Regions from separate parts of the Homo sapiens genome. Here all the other regions are linked to region 2. The links are contacts of gene promoters, found by promoter capture Hi-C in blood cells and fetal thymus (Javierre and others, 2016). All regions are on one chromosome and are shown on one strand. Each heading gives the region's core, a stretch centred on a gene start or on the middle of the fragment in contact. The rest is flanking DNA. Distances are from core to core; before and after follow the strand shown. Region 1 overlaps AGPAT3 (1-acylglycerol-3-phosphate O-acyltransferase 3). Region 2 holds the start of AGPAT3 (1-acylglycerol-3-phosphate O-acyltransferase 3). Region 3 overlaps AGPAT3 (1-acylglycerol-3-phosphate O-acyltransferase 3).

What was found. Contacts are between HindIII fragments. The CHiCAGO score rates a contact against its expected background, and 5 or more counts as called.
Region 1: a fragment that was not itself captured here is called in contact with the fragment with the promoter of AGPAT3 in region 2 in 3 of 17 cell types (endothelial precursors, M1 macrophages and M0 macrophages); the score reaches 7.7 in endothelial precursors.
Region 3: a fragment that was not itself captured here is called in contact with the fragment with the promoter of AGPAT3 in region 2 in 2 of 17 cell types (megakaryocytes and erythroblasts); the score reaches 6.4 in megakaryocytes.

The regions. Positions count from the first base shown.
Region 1 is chr21:43,983,194-43,986,152 of GRCh38, forward strand. It overlaps AGPAT3 (1-acylglycerol-3-phosphate O-acyltransferase 3), which reads left to right. Exons shown (of 10, transcript NM_020132.5): 10 at 1-2,959. Among named protein-coding and RNA genes, the nearest start is that of TRAPPC10, 28 kb to the right of the region's middle. RefSeq lists enhancers at 1-298, 2,751-2,959 and a silencer at 1,931-1,990. The HindIII fragment of the contact is 4,574 bases long and covers 1-2,959 here.
Region 2 is chr21:43,863,879-43,866,713 of GRCh38, forward strand. AGPAT3 (1-acylglycerol-3-phosphate O-acyltransferase 3) reads left to right here and starts at 1,345. Exons shown (of 10, transcript NM_020132.5): 1 at 1,345-1,467. RefSeq lists silencers at 404-763, 1,314-1,663, 1,784-2,103. The HindIII fragment of the contact is 5,864 bases long and covers 1-2,346 here.
Region 3 is chr21:43,937,693-43,940,661 of GRCh38, forward strand. All of the region lies in intron 2 of AGPAT3 (1-acylglycerol-3-phosphate O-acyltransferase 3), which reads left to right. Among named protein-coding and RNA genes, the nearest start is that of TRAPPC10, 73 kb to the right of the region's middle. RefSeq lists enhancers at 403-452, 731-1,631, 989-1,388, 1,632-2,530. The HindIII fragment of the contact is 4,356 bases long and covers 1-2,969 here.

The DNA.
Region 1 (2,959 bases), core at 146-2,645, 120 kb after region 2:
GGAGGGAGGACCCTCGGGGCTACCGCGCGCCCCCCCATCCCACAGATCAGGAGCCAAGGAGGGAGAACAGGGCAGCCTGTGGGACTCTAGGATGCTTCAGAAGAAGCGACGGCACCGTCAACCCTCTGTTTTTTAAAGGTGGTTGGAGACTGTTAACACTGAGCTCATTGACTTCTAGAGATTTTATTTTTACTGGTTGATCTCTTGGTGGTTTTCAACTTCCTGCTGGAAACTAGAGGTGGGGCACCCCCCACCCCCCAGCCTCGCACTGTGTCCTTGGGGAAGGCCCGCCCCCATCCTGGCCGGTGTCACTGTGGCCCGGCCACCCCTGAGCGCCCAGCTCCCTACCTCCTGGACGTCTCTGAGAGTCCAGGCAGAGCAGAGGGCAGCGCTCGGCCGGTCATGCTGGCTCCCTTGGCCTTGCAGCGAGCCCCTGGCCCACGCCGAGCGAGGGATGCTTCTCCCTACAGCATGTCCACTCCCCCGGCATGGCCAGGTGGGGCCCCTGGGGCAATGGCAGTGGTAGAACGCTCAACTTGGTTGCGGTACCATCAGCCCACCTGCATTTGGCTTTCGACTTGCTTGTTCTAAGTCACAGCGCCCTCATCTTTTTAGCAAGGTAAAAAAACCAAAATGGGTGTTATCTCTGATATCTTGAAACCAGCGTTCTGAATAGAGGTAGGTTGAGTTTTCTAGGGGAAAACAAATGGAGAAAAGAGGCATGAAGAAAAGTAAACCGAGAACATAATTAGGCATCGGGCCTAAGTGTCCTGGGGAGATTGGAGGGGACGGCAGCGTTCTGCATGATGGAGGCGCTGCCGGGCCCCGGGTCTGTGGGGGCCGTGCTCTCAGGGCGTGTGCGGGACGCCACCTGTGCACACCTGCTCAGAGCACGGCTCCTCGCAGGGGTGAAGGGGCAGACCAACGAAACCAGATGAGACCAACGACACCATGCGAGACACGCTTGCAGACACTGTTGTTTTGGAAATGTGCTTCCCTCCATCTGAAATCTCATCCCTCCACCCGCCCACTCGGGCAGCTGTGCCGTGGGCAGGGCATGCGCTCCCCTGGCTGAGCACCCCAGAGATTCTCCTGCACCTTCCTCATGCCGCACGCTGCTCATCCGTCTCCATGTGTGTTTAGATCCATGCCATTCACTGACTCACTAACACCTGCAAAATCTTTAAGGAAAAAAGCTGAAGGGTACGACCATGCACATATGTGACCTGGAAAATGCAAATTTAGATCTTTTATGATTTAATTATTATTGTTTCCCATAGAAGTTCCCTCCCTTTGAAATTAATATATAATGTATAAATTCTGCACTGAGCCATGGCGGAGCTGGGCAGCCCCTAGGTTAGAGTGGAGACGGAGGCCCAGGCGCAGGGGTCACACCTCATCTGGTTTCCTTCCCATCTCACAGCTTAGCTTGTGCTTCTCAACACCAAGTCTTTAAGAGCAATAAAAACTACACCATGAATGTTTGAATTTTTTTTTTTTGGGGGGGGGAGGGTGGATTTTGCTTTTCATCCAGAAGGAAAAGGGGAGGAGAGCTCCTTTACATTTTTTAAATTAAATTCATAAATCCCAGAACAGTCTTTTTTTTTTCTTTTTCCTTTACACCCTACTTCTGAGCTTAATTCAGTTGATGTTATGTCCAAATTCAGGCTGAGTGCTCAGGCTGAAGCAACTCTGTAGCCCACAGTCCGTGCTGGCCACTGTCGGGGTGAGGCACATTCTAGGCCTGGCATCGCTGATGCCCTCTGCACCCAGTCCTTGAGCCAGGCCGAGGACAGGAAGGGCATTGCTGGCCTGTAGCTCCTGTTACCCACCCAGAGCCAGGCGCCACACTGGAGGCTCCCAGGCGGGAGGGCCCAGGCCCACCCACGGGCGTCTGGCCGGTCAAGCTCCCAGCCTGGGCCGTGGTCTCCTGGGGACGCCGCTGGCCTCCCAGCTTAGGCCCAGGTGCCAGGTGTCATGGGGTCTCCTGCCCATCTTCCCAAGGATGCCATTGCTGTCTTCATCGTCTTCCCCCGTGTGAGACACTGGTTGTCTGGTACTCGGCGACAGTGTACCAGACGCGCACCCTATGTGAGGTGCTTTAAGGTCCCTGTCCTCAGGAAGCGCAGTCTGGTGGAAGAGATGAGCGCTGAACAAATCACTAAATAACACAAAACAACAATGTAAGCAGCACTTTCTTGTGTAAAAAAAAAAAAAAAGCACGTCCTGTCGATGAATTTTGAGTCTCTCTGCCTTGCCTGTCCCGACTCCCTTTCGCGCACCGTGGCATGAGAATCTTTCCTCACGCTGTTCGTTGCGGTATTGCTGAGCATTGATGTTGATTTGAAGGAAAAGCCGTGGTTGGACCCAGCTGTGTGTTTCACTCACGTGCAATTGAGTAGCTGTTGCCAGGCTGTCCATGCCTGTTGTGACTACCGGTTGGGGTCAGATTTGGGGTGAAGAATGAGTAAGTTTCTGCATGCTTTGTCTCTACCTGAGACACTTCTACAACAAGCCAAGTATAATCTCTCCAGCCCTGCAGATTTTCACCTGACTTGTTCAGCCCCATGCGTAGACTCCCGCTGCAGGCCTCTGGCCTGTGGCTCACTGCATGCAGCCCCTGGCGTGCAATACTAGTGCTCCACGGCGCGATGTGCTTCTAGCCCTTGCACTGCACCTAGGCTCAGGGTTCAAACGGCCAGCCCGAAAAGCCTGCCTGCCTTCTTTCTGGAAACAGCACGTCCCCGGCCGTGTGCCTGCCCCTTTCTCTACTGAGCTAGTCCCCAAACCAAAGGCAAGCCCCCTCGGGCCTCGGGGGATGGGGCCGGCCACACCCCTGACTCCGCCCTGGCTCTGCCCCATACCCCTGCCGTGGGGCCGACCTGGGGGATGCAGACATCCGGCTCCGTATTCCTGCCTATCGGGGCCAGGATGCAAAAACAATTTTTGCGTAAAAGAT
Region 2 (2,835 bases), core at 95-2,594:
GGGAGAATACTTGAGCTCAGGAGTTCGAGATCAGCCTGGGCAACACCGTGAGGCCCCATTTCTACAAAAAAAATTTTTTTTAAATTAGCCAGACATGGTGGTGTGTGCCTGTGGTCCCAGCTACTTGGGAGGCTGAGGTGGGAGGATCACTTGAGCCCTGGAGTTCAAGGCTTCAGCGAGCTATGATTGTACCACTGCACTCCAGGGTGGGCGACAGAGCAAGACCCTGTCTCAATAATAATAAAAATAAAAAAAAAAAAAAGGAAAAAAAGGGGCACAGTAGACAGTACCAGTACTTGGTATTTTAAATGGTTTTCAAATGAAGCCCACCCAAGCTCAGCAAGTCCAGCCGGGGCCTGAGGACCTGAGCAGGCGCCAGGTCACACAAGGTACCGGGCGCAGGAGGCGGAGCCCGCAGCGGGCCCTGCCCTGACAGCGGCACCTGCGCGGCCTCCGCAGGTTCTGGGATCGGCCGCTGGCCAGGTGCAAGGGAGGGGGGACGGCAGCCGCTGTCCTGGGGCTGAGAGGGCTCCGCGGTCTGGAGGGGACGGCGTCAGCGCCCGCGGGGGTTCGCAGGGCAGCCCCGGGGCGACCCCCACCCCCGCCACGGTCAAGTGTCGATACAGTGTTGCCAGCCGGGTGCCAACTATGAATAAGTCCAAGGGCGCGGCACGTGGGCCGAAACGCGATCCTTCCGCGGAGCCGCTGCGCGCAGGGCCGTCCCCACCGAGCCCGCCGCGCGGCGACCCCTGACGGCGACCCTAAGCCCCGGCCGACCAGGGCAGGAGCTCGCGCGCGAAACTTCCCCGGCGCCCGCAGGAGACCCCGGCAGGGGAGATGGCGGGGCCCAGGCAGAGCTCGGAGGCCCCTCCCGGCCCCACCCCGCGCCCCGGCCCCCTCTGCCCCCGACCCGGTCCGGGGGAGCCCTCGCGGGACCCCAGCCTGGTCCTTCGCCGCCTCCCCCCGTTCAGCCCCGACCCCCCTGATCCCCGCGCCCCCCGCGGTCCCGGCCCGCCCCCTCCCCCAGCCCGGGCCCCAGCCCCGTCCGTTAGCGGATCCCACGCAGGCTCCGCGCCCGGCCCCGCCGGCGCCCTCGGCCCACACCTCTCTCCGCGCGCGTGTCCCGCCGTGTCGCCCCCGTGTCCCCTCCGCGTCCCCCCCCGCGCCGTCCCCCCGCGTCCCCCCCCGCGTCCTTCCCCCGTGTCCCCCCAGCGTGTCCCTCGGCCGCCCCGCGCGCGCCGGCGGAACTGTGGGATCGCCGCGCACAGGAAGTGGCGGCGGCGGCGCGGCCGAGGGCGGAGGGCGGAGGGCGGCGGGATGGGGGCCGGGGGCGGCGGGCGCCGCACTCGCTGAGGCCCCGACGCAGGGCCGGGCCGGGCCCAGGGCCGAGGAGCGCGGCGGCCAGAGCGGGGCCGCGGAGGCGACGCCGGGGACGCCCGCGCGACGAGCAGGTGGCGGCGGCTGCAGGTGAGCACCGAGGCCCCCACCCGAGGTCGGGCCGCCCCCCTCTTCCCCCACGCCCCGCCGCCGCCCGAGGTCGCCCTCCCGCCGCCGGAGGTCGCCCCTGCCCCAGCCGTCCGACCTCGGGCCGCCCGGGGCCCCGCGCCGCAATGGGCCGGCCGCGCTCCGCGGGGCGCGGGGCCTGGGAAGGCGCGGGGCCGGGAGGAGGTCTGGGCCCGGGTCCTGTGCGCCCCCCGCAACCCCGGCCTCCCCGGCGGCCTGGTCCAGCGCGAGGCCCCGGCCGCTTCCCGCAGCAGCCTCGGTGGCGCTGGGCCCAGCGGGGAGGCCCGGGGGTTCGGGGCGCCCGGGAGGGGCCCGGGCCGGGCCGAGGGAGGGCGAGTGGGTTCCCGCGGGGACGTCCCATCCCTCCGTCCTGGACTCTGCTCCGGGCCCCGCTCGGCTCCCCCGTGGACAGGACGCGCCCGCCGCCTGGTTTCGGGGCGCGGCGGACCCGGGACCCCCCCCAGGGGCCTCCTCCTCGCGCGCCCAGGCCAAGGGAGCAGTTTCACTTTTGCCGCTCCGCGCGGGGAGGGCTGCGGGGCCCGGGGTTGGCTGTGGGTTCGGCCCGGAGACCGGCGGCGCGTTTGCACCGGGCGGGTCAGGGGATGGGGTCAGTCCGGGGGCAAGAGCCGTGGGGGCGAAAACCCACTCCTGGCCACCCCAGGACCCTTGGAACATTGGTCCCAAGTACTTAGGAAAGGAGGGTTATTAGTATTTGAAGGCAGTTAAAAATGGTGCAGTGTTTTTTTTTTTTTTTTTAACTTTGAGAGAAGTTTAGTGACATGGGGAAAATGCTTTTATAAATGGCTTCCCAGACCTTTAAAAAAAAAAAAGCACAATTTTAAAAGCTTTGTCTAGGAGAATACTTGAGCAGTTGGGTTCTTTTTCCTGGGAAACATGATCTTAGTAGAAGAAAGATGTGGGCTGTTGGCCTCCAGACAGAGGGTGATGAGCATGCGGCTCTTATTAAAAATGAAAGCCAACGCCGAGAGCCTGCTGGGGGCTGGGAGGTGGGGCGGGCGGCGGGCCCAGGCTGCTAGAGGGACCCAGGATCCTGCAGCTTTTAAATTGCAGGCGCGGCTGCTCCGACTCGACTCGCTTAGGAATTGCTGAACTTCGTCTTCTCAGTTTGAAAGCTTCAGAGGGGTCTCCCGAGGATGCTGAGCACTCTCTTGATTTGGCCACTTCTTTGCCGCCCCCCCTCCCTCTTTCCAACCAATCCTCCTCCCCCACAGAGTTCGGCGTTAGCCTGTGCCTGTTACAACTCGCTTCTTGTATCCATTTCTGGTTAGTCTTAAGTATCTTCTTGAGGACATTGTCTAAAAAGCAGCTGCA
Region 3 (2,969 bases), core at 151-2,650, 74 kb after region 2:
AATTACAGGCGTGAGCCACCATGCCTGGACAGGAAAAGGGAAATTTCTTTTTGCAACCTTTTGTCAGGGGCTGAAACCTTTCTGGAAGCTCCAAAAGACTCCTTTCTCTCTCTCATTAACTATCTCTAAGGCAGTCATTAGGACGCATCCCATGAAACCAGATGACTTCTGCATAGCCATTGCCTTCTATACCTCAGGCAGGTTCTTGTTAGAAGAAGTGCCAGGCAGAGGTTGTGTGGGCAGCCAGTCATATTTGCATATTTTGGGGTGACTGTGCAGACAGTGCTGGACCAAGGAAGTTGTCTGGGTCCTCGCTGCAGAGGGAGGAGGAAGCAGCTCACACGCTTGCTGTTGTCTGGTGGGAGGGCTGCATTTCTCCTCTCTCCCCCACTTTCTCTCTCTCTCTCTCTCTCACACACACACAGACACACACACACACACACACACACTCACACTCACTGTTGGGTTTCTTGGGCTGCTAACAGGATTAAATGAATGTCTTGGTTCCATGATGTGCATGTTACGCTAGAGAGCTAAGTTAGTTAACATCGCTCATTGGGATAGAAGGAACGTACTGAGGAACGTACTGAGGATTAGAAGTCAGAATTCTTGAATCTGCAAATCTTTTTTTTTTTTTTTTTTTTTTTTTGAGACAGAGTCTTGCTCTTGTTGCCCAGGCTGGAGTGCTCACTGTAACCTCTGCCTCCCGAGTTCAAGCGATTCTCCTGCCTCAGCCTCCTGAGAAGCTGGGATTACAGGCATGCTAATTTTTTGTATTTTTAATAGAGACAGGGTTTCACCATGTTGGCCAGGCTGGTCTCAAACTCCTGACCTCAGGTGATCCACCAGCCTCGGCCTCCCACAGTGCTGGGATTACAGGTGTGAGCCACCGTGCCCGGCCTGCAAATCTTCTATTTTGTTCAGACACTAACTCCAGCCCTATAAATAGTCATCCAATACTTCCAGTAAATGGTGCGCCTCATATTGATCTGCCTGGTTGCCTTACCGTGTTTGTTACATTGCTGTGTAACGAGTTACCCACAAACTTAGCAGCGAAAACAGCAGACATCTATTATCTCACACAGCTGCGGAGGGTCAGGAATCCAGGAGTGGCTTAGCGGGCGATTCTGGGTGTCACGTGGAGTCACATGGGGTCAATGTGTTGGCCGGGGATGCAGTCACCTGAAGCCTTGTGGGGGGAAGGAGGGGCTCCCCCAGGCCTGGGAAGGCTGCGGCTGCCCCATCACGCTCTCTCCTCCACCAGGTTCACAGGTTCACAGAAGTAAAGGCTGAGCATGTCAGGACTGAGCTGAGCGGTTCCCACCTCTCAGTCCACAGTTTCCCACAGAGCACGCAGGGGCCGCACCAGGGCTGGGACGGGGCTGCGACCAGGCTAGGGGAGCATCCTGGGCAAACCCTGCTGGGGACAGGTTCGTTGTGTCTGATGCCGTGGGAGATGCACGAGCAGTGACTTTCACTTTATCCCACTGTGGCCCCGTGACCCTGAGCGAGAATGCACTGGCCGGGCCTCCAGGGGGCGCTCCCTTAGGAACACCCCATCCCCGTCCCCGTGTGCTGTCGAGGGCCTCTAGCGGGCGCTCCCTTGATAACACCCCACCCCCGTCGCTGTTGTTGTCGGGGGCCTCCCGCGCCCCAGGAGGTTTCCCAGGGCGATGCTCTGGTCCCTGGGTCCTTTGATCTCATCTCCCTAGTTTAGCCTTTGAACTCCATTTCAGATTGAGAGGTTTCAGGCTGGAGTGACATGGAGGGACGTGCCTGACTTCTGGAGGATAAGAGGCGGCCCACCCCACAGCTCTTCCAGCGTGGGAGCTCTGAACATGGGACCCGGAGCACCACCGTTTAGCAAACCTTGCTGCAGTTTGGAGAGAGTGTCGCGGGCGCCTGGCCTGTCCGGCAGGCTGGGTGGCTGTTCTCTGTTGAGCCCACAGCCATGCCCCACATGCAGGACGTTTGCCTATCACTTGGAGGCCTTTCAGGGATCTTGCTAGCCCACGGCTGAGCACAGGGTAGACCTCACCAACTCACCCACAACCTGGCCCCTTGACACACTGGTGCTGTGAGGAGGAAGATGTGGGCACTCTTAGGTCCCTGGTCCTAGGGGTCTGTGCTGGGGTGGGGCTCGTTGACCTGCATCCTGGCTGGCCCTGTGACTCTGCCTGTTTACAGTGAGCAGCTCCTGGCCAAAAGCTGCTTATTGGATTAGCCGGTGCCCCGACGGCAGAGCCCGCAGCTGTGCGCAGGAGGACGAACCTGTGTGTATGTCCTGCTTCAGCGCGCTCCTGGGGTCCCTTGAGTTGGTCTCTGTGACTAGAAGGACAGTGCTGGCCACGCAGGTGGCACCCTGGGGGTGCCCAGCACCCACTTCCTGCTGAGCAGATGCTCTGGGTGGCAACGGCCCCTGCCAAGCCTGGGCAGCTCAGGCCAGGTCCTAATCCCTCCGCTTGAGCTCGGCTCCTCACCCTTTGGCCAGGCTGACACCTGCTCCCCGCAGGTCCTTCTCGCCGGCTTCAGGCAGCACAGGACCGAGGGCTGAAGATGCTGAGCAGCTACCCGGCCTGCCTCTTCTCAGGGATCTGTGTGGCCCTGCTGGCGGTGGCTTTGGCCTATTACTTCTACTGGTGAGTGAGGCCGGGGCCCGGGGGCCTGGGCAGTCCTGGGGGCCTTTACTGTGTGCTCCCCTCCTCTTCCAGCCCTGGACCGTTCTCTGCATGTCAACAAACCCTGCCTAGCCCTTTGCAGGGGAACTCCTGGGAGGTAGGGAAGCAGGGGATGGCAGGAACTCATTCTGATCCCTCCTGGGGTCCTTGGGCAGCTCTCCCATCCTTCTGCAAAGGGGTTTTTGTTCAGAACATTCCTGAAGGAGCTGAGCGGTTTCATACCATCTGGGCGGTGTTTGTAGATGCCTGGCATGTCCTGGGACGGACAAGTGCCTGATGTATGGGCACAGA